Linked DNA regions of Homo sapiens: region 2 is linked to region 1. The links are contacts of gene promoters, found by promoter capture Hi-C in human tissues and cell types (Jung and others, 2019). All regions are on one chromosome and are shown on one strand. Each heading gives the region's core, a stretch centred on a gene start or on the middle of the fragment in contact. The rest is flanking DNA. Distances are from core to core; before and after follow the strand shown. Region 1 holds the start of DLEC1 (DLEC1 cilia and flagella associated protein). Region 2 overlaps ACVR2B (activin A receptor type 2B).

Region 1 (3,634 bases), core at 1,059-3,558:
AAATTTCTGCAATTTTAAAACTTCAAATGTTTAAATTAAATTTCAGCTTCTAAATTAAGATTTTTATAATGTGGGCCAGGCACAGTGGCTCACACCTGTAATACCGGCATCTGGAGAGGCTGAGGTGGAAGGATCAATTGAGGCCAGAAATTTGAGACCAGCCTGGGCAACATAGTGGGACCCCATCTCACAATTTTTAAAAAATAAAAATTTAGGCCAGATGTGGTGGCTCATGCCTGTAATCCCAACACTTTGGGAGGCCAAGGTGGGCAGATCACGAGGTCAGGAGATCGAGACCATCCTGGCTAACACAGTGAAACCCTGTCTCTACTAAAAATACAAAAAAATTAGCCAGGTGTGGTGGCAGGCGCCAGCTACTCAGAAGGCTGAGGCAGGAGAATGGCATGAATGTGGGAGGTGGAGCTTGCAGTGAGCTGAGATTGCGCCATGCACTCCAGCCTGGGTGACAGAGTGAGACTCCATCTCAAATAAATAAATAAATAAATAAATAAGCTGGGCATACTGGTGCACACCTGTGGTCCTAGCTACTCCAGATGCTGAGGAGGGAGGATCAGTTGAGCCCCTGATGTTAAGGCTGCAGTGAGCTGTGATCACATCACTGCACTCCAGCCTGGGCAACAGAGCCAGACTCTGTCAAAAAAAAAAATTTGTAATATGTATTACTTTTTTTCTTCAAAAAAAGGGATCACTATTTGCCAATTCAGACTCTGGTATAGTGGCTACTTATGGGACAGATACTGAGAAGATAGAATCCAGTGAACTGGGTGACTGGTCATGGGGTTTATAGGTTTATAATGCTCCATATATTCTGGCTCATGTGAATGACAGGGATGTGAGTCTGAAGTTCAAGGGCAAGGTCTGGCTGGGTAGGCTGAAGTCTTAGCAGAGTGAATGTGGTGACCCACGAATCACAGAGTACAGGATCCCAGCCAGGGGCTCTGGCTGCACTTTAAGAAGCCTATAACCCGTGGAGGCGGCGAGACTGGTCCTGTAAGTATCTCACATACTGTATAGGTATTCATTTTGTTAATGTCTATCTACCTCAGTTAGGTTGAAAGCTACAGAGGACAGGTTGCGTGTGTGAGTGTGGGTGTGCCCGAACACTGGCGTTTTTATTCACTGCTGAATCCCCACTGCCTAGAACAGAGTATGACACCCAGCAGACATTCAACAAATGTGTTAAGTGAAGGAATGACTGAAGCTAACGACGTGGGATGCATGTCACTTAAGGGGCAGGTAGAGGACAGAACAGAAAGGAGAAGAAGAAGATCTGAGAGGCAGGAAGCACACCGGGGTAAAGGATCGGGTATGGGAGGAGTGCCCACAAGTTTAAGGGAGTCTTCAGTAGTGTGGCCAGCAGAGGCCGACTCAGCACAGAGGCCGCGAGTCAGCTGGTTTTCTCCTTGTACAGATGAGGAAGCAGAGTTGCTGTTCTAGAGGCTAGACACGCTTCCTAAAATCTGCGCATGAATGGCCCAGTCAAGATTGTGGTTTGTGATACAAAGGCACCCCAAAGCCGGGTGACTTTTGGCTTTATCCTCTCCATGGAACAACTATTCAGCGGTCTGCCGCAGTCGTTCATTGATATATGCAATATATAACGTATGTGTCTAGAGAAATATAGACAGGTGCTACAGATATATGCCGCACGTTGTGTGGTATGTGTGGTATTTGCGCATGTGTGTGTATGGATAGAGCGTCCTTCCACTAGAATGTCGGGCCCACTTCGGCATGATGGGCTGTTTCTCAACTGCAGCCCCAGATCCTGGAACAGCGCCTGGCACCTGGCAGGTGCTGACGCGTGCCGAGCGCTGAGACCCCGGCACCGTCCGCAGACGCGACGCCACCGCCACGTTACCTGCTGCAGCTGGTCCACGAACTCCTCGTGGCGCTCATTCTCGCTGCCGCGGGCCTTGATCAAGCTTGCGCTCACTTCGTCGCCGATGACCTCGGCTGAGTACAAGTTGCGGAAGACGCCGGTGAGCAAGTGCGAGATATCTTGGGTGCGCAGCGAGGAGGGGCGCAGACGAAGCAGCTGAGGCTCGGGACGCTGCGCCAGCGCAAGCTGCGTGAGGCGGCGGGGCCGGGCTGCGAAGCTGTAGTGGAAGGCCTCAGAGTAGGCGAGGGAGGAATACAAGGAGGACTTCCAGGTGGGCTGGCTGGGGCTGCTGGACCCGGCTGGTGGCGAAGTTGGCGCCCACATTGTCCCCTGGCACTCGTTGGTCCGGGACGCTAAAGACCTCCGCGTTTTGGAGCTCCTGGTCTCCATGGCAACCGAGACGCCGCTAACTCCCTGCGGCACTTCGGCTTCCGGCCTCACCCCTTCCGCCTTGCCTTTCTCTCGGATCCCGTCATCGCTGTGGTCATTGTAAACATTTGTGTCTTCAGCATTGTCCTTTTAAAAGTGAGCTTACTAAGTGTGAGGACCCATGAAGAAAGGTTTAATTGACACAGCCAGGCCTATCTGCAAAACCTTGTACCTAACTACCTACCTTCATCCATTCTTTAATTTGTTAAGCAACTGTTCATTCACTCATCATATTTATTGTGTAAAGATTGTGTTTCAGGTCTGTGCTGATTGCTGAAGATACCAAAGAAGTATGATGCTGCTTCTGCCTTCAGGAAGTGCACAGTCGTGTATGTGTGTGTTTGTGATGATGGCGGTGGGTGTGGAGGTAAAAGTAAAACAACTGTACTTTAGTGGGTTAAGGCCAAGGTGGAGATAAATATTGGTTGTCATGGAACTACAAAGGAGGACAGGAACTTAGTCTGTAGAAGGAGCGATTACTTCTTGGAACAAATGAAAACCAAGCAGAGATTTCAAAGAAGGAGTAGACTGAACATCATTAGTCATCAAAGAAGTGGAAATTAAAACCACAATGCAGTACTACAGTTAGTAGAATGACAAAAAACAAAAAAGTACCTAAATAAGAGCGTGTGTGTGGTGGCTCACACCTGTAATCCCAACACTTTGGGAGGCTGAGGCACGAGGATCACTTGAAGCCAGGAGTTTGAGACCAGCCTGGGCAACATAGGGAGACCCCATCTTTACAAAATATTTAAAAATGTGGGAAGGACGGAATGAAATTCAGGAGGAGTGGAACTTAAAGAGTGTGAGGGTGGAGGAATGACACTGATAGGTTAGGGCCAGATCATAAGTGGGTTGGTAGGCCACAATAGGGAATTTGGACTTTATTTTGAGGGCAGTAGGAGGTTCATCAAGGGTCTTAAGCTGGGGCATGTCATGGTCAGCTCTGTTTTACTAAGATCATTCTGATTGCTATGAGAATAGACAGGAGAGGCAAGAGGCATCAGGAAGTTCAGTTAGGAAACTAGCACAGAAGTTAGGAAAGAGATGAAGGGAGATTGGATGAGAGAGAGGGAACTGGATTGGAGATAGATCCAAAAAGTAGAATTGATAAGACTTGCTGGTGGATAATGGGAGGTAAGAAACAGGCACCAAGAATGACTCCCAGGTATCCTGTGTGTGCAATCAGGGGGGTGATGACAGCATCACTGAGATGGAAAAGAGGACTGCATTTGTCCAGGGCAGCAGCATAACATCACATTGACTGTTGTCATTTGCACACCATGGCTTTTGCTCACAGGTGAT
Region 2 (4,022 bases), core at 13-2,512, 440 kb before region 1:
TGAGGTTCATTCCCCTCCCTCACAGTCACAGAACCAGACTCAACTAGCTACAAGACCTTGGCTAAGTCATTCAACTTCTCTGTACTACTGTTCCTCCATCTGCAAGACAGAGCTGAGAAATACAGTACTTGTCTCAATGGGCGGTAATGAAGGTCAAATGAATTGATACTTCTCAAGTGTTTAGAGCACTGCCTGCCATTTAGTAAGCATGACAGTGATGAGCTCATCCAGAGTTTCTTAAAGGGTGGTTCGAGGACCCCAGAAGATCTCTAAGACTGTTCCAAGGGAATCTATAAAGTCAAAATTATTTTCATTTATTTGCTTTTATAAGGCTCATTCTCTTAGGAGCATAGAGTTTTCCCGAGGCTACATGAGATGTGATGTCCTCACTCTGACAGCGAATGGGATGTGTGGGTGTGCTCAAATACAGCAAATATCAATAGTCATAATCCACTTACACAAAAGTCATTTTAAGAGTATAAAGGGATCCTAAACTAGAAAATTTGAGAACTACTGAGCCAACTCTCCAACCAAAGTAATGGAGTCAGCACTTCATGTGGCCATTAGAGGGCACCAAAAACCAGCTTGGGAGGCCATGCCATCCCCAGGACACAGTGGGAAGGCCAGGTTTTGTGCCCAGCTGCCTCGGACACACAGCAAGCAGGGTAAGTATGTTTAGGAAGTTGAGACATCTCCAGACACTGCTCTCGCCCACCAACCCTTCCCACAGCTCCAGGTCAAGTGCAGGAAAGGCACCTGCTGACCCAGGTACCTGTGGGCAATAGACGGCTTGTGGCCCTCGCCACGGCACCAGGGCACATCCTCATGCAGGTATGAGAGGCCTCGTGACATCGTCTCTGCTACATGACACAGTTCGTTCCATGTGATGATGTTCCCCTTGAGGTAATCCGTGAGGGAGCCCTGAGAGAAGACAGCACAGAACTTGAGCACAGATTCTGGGTACAGGACAGGACCCAGCCCAGCCCTGGCAGAGAAGTCTCAGTGGGCCAATGGCTAGGCTGCTCTCCTGGAAGGCTACTACAATCGATATGGAAGATGGATGAGGCCAGGAGGCAGGGAGGGCTAGGGGTGGGAATCATGGAGTCACTACTCTTATCATAAAAACTTATCCCAGGGTGAGAGGTTCCTATCATAGGGGAACCAATGTCCACACCTATGGCAGGAGTAACCCCATAGTGGATAGTGCTACCGGGGCAGAGTACTTCATGGTGGACACCTCCACAGGGAAGGGGTCATCATATTATGGAGAGCCACCAAGGGGACATTCCATCTCCTCTCAGAGTCCATTCTGATGGGTGTGGCTCACCTTGTCATGGAAGGCCGTGATGAGCCACAGCTCTACTTCGAGGTTGGAGCCTCGCTTCTCGGCAGCAATGAACTGTAGCAGGTTCTCGTGCTTCATGCCAGGTGTGCTGAAGATCTCCCGTTCACTCTGCCACGACTGCTTGTCCTGAGGCCGGGGGCGAGGGGTTGGGGGGACAAGTGGCTGGCTTAGCCCTGCTGCAGTCACATTGCCCTACAGCAGAACAACCATTCCCCATTCCCCACCCTCAAGCCTCCCAGCCCAATCCCCACCCCCCAGCCTCCCAGCTTCAGCATTTGTAAGGGGACCAGGAGAAGACCTGTATTAAGCTAGGCCCCAGAGCATGAGGCCAACAGTGATCCCTGAGATCACTTAAGGCTAGCACTTCGATTTACAAATGGGGCCACTAAGGTCCATGCATGGGGTGTGAGTGACCCCGTATCACCCAACAAATGAGGCAGAGCCAGACCTGGTGTCCAGGGCCGCTGGAAAGAACCCAATGTCAAAAACAAAACCCTGGTAACCGGGGCAAATCAAGGTTTTGCAAAGCCCTACCCTAGTCCTATGATAAAATTCCATAGTTGCATGAAATCTACAGACCAGCCAAGTGTAACATGAGTAACTAGGCCCAGTAAGGCTCACTTTTCTCTCATACCACAATATTATTTGGGGTTTGGATTGCCCCAGGTCAGGAGAGCCTCCAGTTCAAGCTACAGTGGAGGCAGAGGACCTGGATGGAGCCCCTCAAACACTCACCTGGAGTGGGAAGATCTTGACAGCTACAAAGTCATTCATGAGCTGGGCCTTCCAGACACAGCCAAAGCGCCCCCGAGCCTTGATCTCCAGCAGCTGCAGTGGCTTCAGGCCCACCAGAGGGGATGGTGGTGGAGGCCCAGGGTCCTGGGGGAGAGCAAGGCTTAAAAAGGTCTGGCCTGTCCTCCCCACCTCTATCCTGCCCTGCCCCAAGCCAGCACTGTCTCACCTCATGGATGTCCACATGACCGTAGGGGGGCTTGCGATGCCGGTACATCCAAAAGGCCAGCAGGACGATGAGGGAAAGGCCCCCGATGGGCAGCAGTGAGTAGGCCAGCACCGTGAGCAGGGTGGGGGCTGTCGGGGGTGGCTCGTACGTGACTGGGGGACACACAGAGCCCTGTGTCAAACAGTCTGCCCACCCTCACACTTCCAGAGCCAGACTACAGGGCCCTGTAGCCACACCCCACCCAACTGAGGAGCCAAGCGCTCCAAGCCAAAGAAGCCCAGGTCGGCTGACTCAAGGCCCCACTTCCACACTGCCCCCTTACCTTCCGGGCCCCCAGCCTCTGGCAAATGAGTGAAGCGTTCGTTGCAGAAGTTGCCTTCACAGCAGCAGAAGTACACCTGGGGGTTCTCCTCAGTGGCCACACACTCCTGCCTGGAGGCACAGAATTTTCCATATACCCCTCACCTGGGGGATGCAAGACTCCCCCAGGCCTGCCCTGCCAACCCCTCCTCACAGACAGAGCACCTCATGGGCAACACCAGGGGGACGGTGTGAACTCACCTCCCCTACAGGAGACCCAAAGCCAAGGAAGAACAGCCAGGGGTTGACACTGAGACCCCTCCTCAGGGCTAAGGTAGGACAAATAGGGTGTGGAAGGGCGTGGGGCCATGGCTACCATCTCAAGAGCCCCTTCTTGGTCCTTTATCTCCCACTCAGACATCCTGAGACCCAAATGGCCCAGTGGGCAGTATAAGCGCAGGTGGGTCCAAGAGGAAAGGAGGGCAAGTCTTGGGGTACCTATCGTAGCAGTTGAAGTCATCTAGCCAGCAGCCCTTCTTCACGAGCTCGATGGTGCCAGAGCTGTTGCGCCAGGAGGCGTAGCAGTGCAGCCGCTTGTCCTGCTCGCCTTCGCAGCGCTCCAGGCCGCTCTGGTTGGTGCGCTCCAGCTCCCAGTTGGCGTTGTAGTAGATGCACTCCCGTGTCTCAGCCTCCCCACGCCCAGAGCCTGTGCCCCAGAGAAAAGAGAACCACTGAGCATGCCCCTGGGACCACCACCCAAACCCCTACTCCCAGTCCTGGGTGCCAGGCCACCCTGAGGGAGGGAGGCCGGGTGGTGGGTTGGGGTCACCAACCTCCTGCACTCACCCCTGGACGTAGGCCACCCATCCGTCCCACACCTCTTAATTTACGTGTGCCAGCTGGCACCAGCCCCCACCTCATTCTGCAGCCCATCACAGCTGCCCCTAGGCCTAAGCAAAAGGGAGGAGGCAGGAAACCTAATGCCACAGAAGGATGGATAAACAGCCAGACAGACAGAGTCCAGATGCACAGAAAGGGCACCAACACCTGAGGCTCCTGCGTGGGGGTGGGGGCTACTTCCCTGCTGCAGCAGAAACCGATGAAGAGGCCCCCTTAAAACCCCAGTGCACATCGGAATCACTGTATGTTGCAGGTGTGGGAAAGGGGAGCAGTGTTCATTCAAATACGTATTTCCAGGCCCAATCCAGACCCATCCCAATGGGAATGGGGGCAGAATATGTGCTTTTAATCACCCCTGTCTGTCTCAGGTGATTGTGATAAAGATCTCAAGGACCACCTGGGAAAACTACAAAGGGGAGTGGCTTCCTGCTGCTCCTGTCTCTGCCCCCAAGCCCCCTTCTCACAACAGTTCCCCAGGGAGACCATGCCAGTGGGTCCTCCACAACTCCCTGCCCA

The links. The method cuts DNA at HindIII sites, captures the fragments that hold promoters and counts their contacts. A contact is called where the count stands out against the background at its distance.
Region 2: a fragment that was not itself captured here is called in contact with the fragment with the promoter of DLEC1 in region 1 in 1 of the 25 tissues and cell types used here (lymphoblastoid cells).

Annotation. Positions count from the first base shown.
Region 1 is chr3:38,037,882-38,041,515 of GRCh38, reverse strand. DLEC1 (DLEC1 cilia and flagella associated protein) reads right to left here and starts at 2,308. Exons shown (of 37, transcript NM_007335.4): 1 at 1,880-2,308. The coding sequence starts at 2,290. RefSeq lists enhancers at 1,514-1,743, 2,034-2,243. The HindIII fragment of the contact is 10,609 bases long and covers 1-3,634 here.
Region 2 is chr3:38,476,577-38,480,598 of GRCh38, reverse strand. It overlaps ACVR2B (activin A receptor type 2B), which reads right to left. Exons shown (of 11, transcript NM_001106.4): 2 at 3,105-3,312; 3 at 2,629-2,738; 4 at 2,307-2,458; 5 at 2,081-2,224; 6 at 1,328-1,471; 7 at 773-921. Among named protein-coding and RNA genes, the nearest start is that of EXOG, 18 kb to the left of the region's middle. RefSeq lists an enhancer at 3,548-4,022. The HindIII fragment of the contact is 5,726 bases long and covers 1-4,022 here.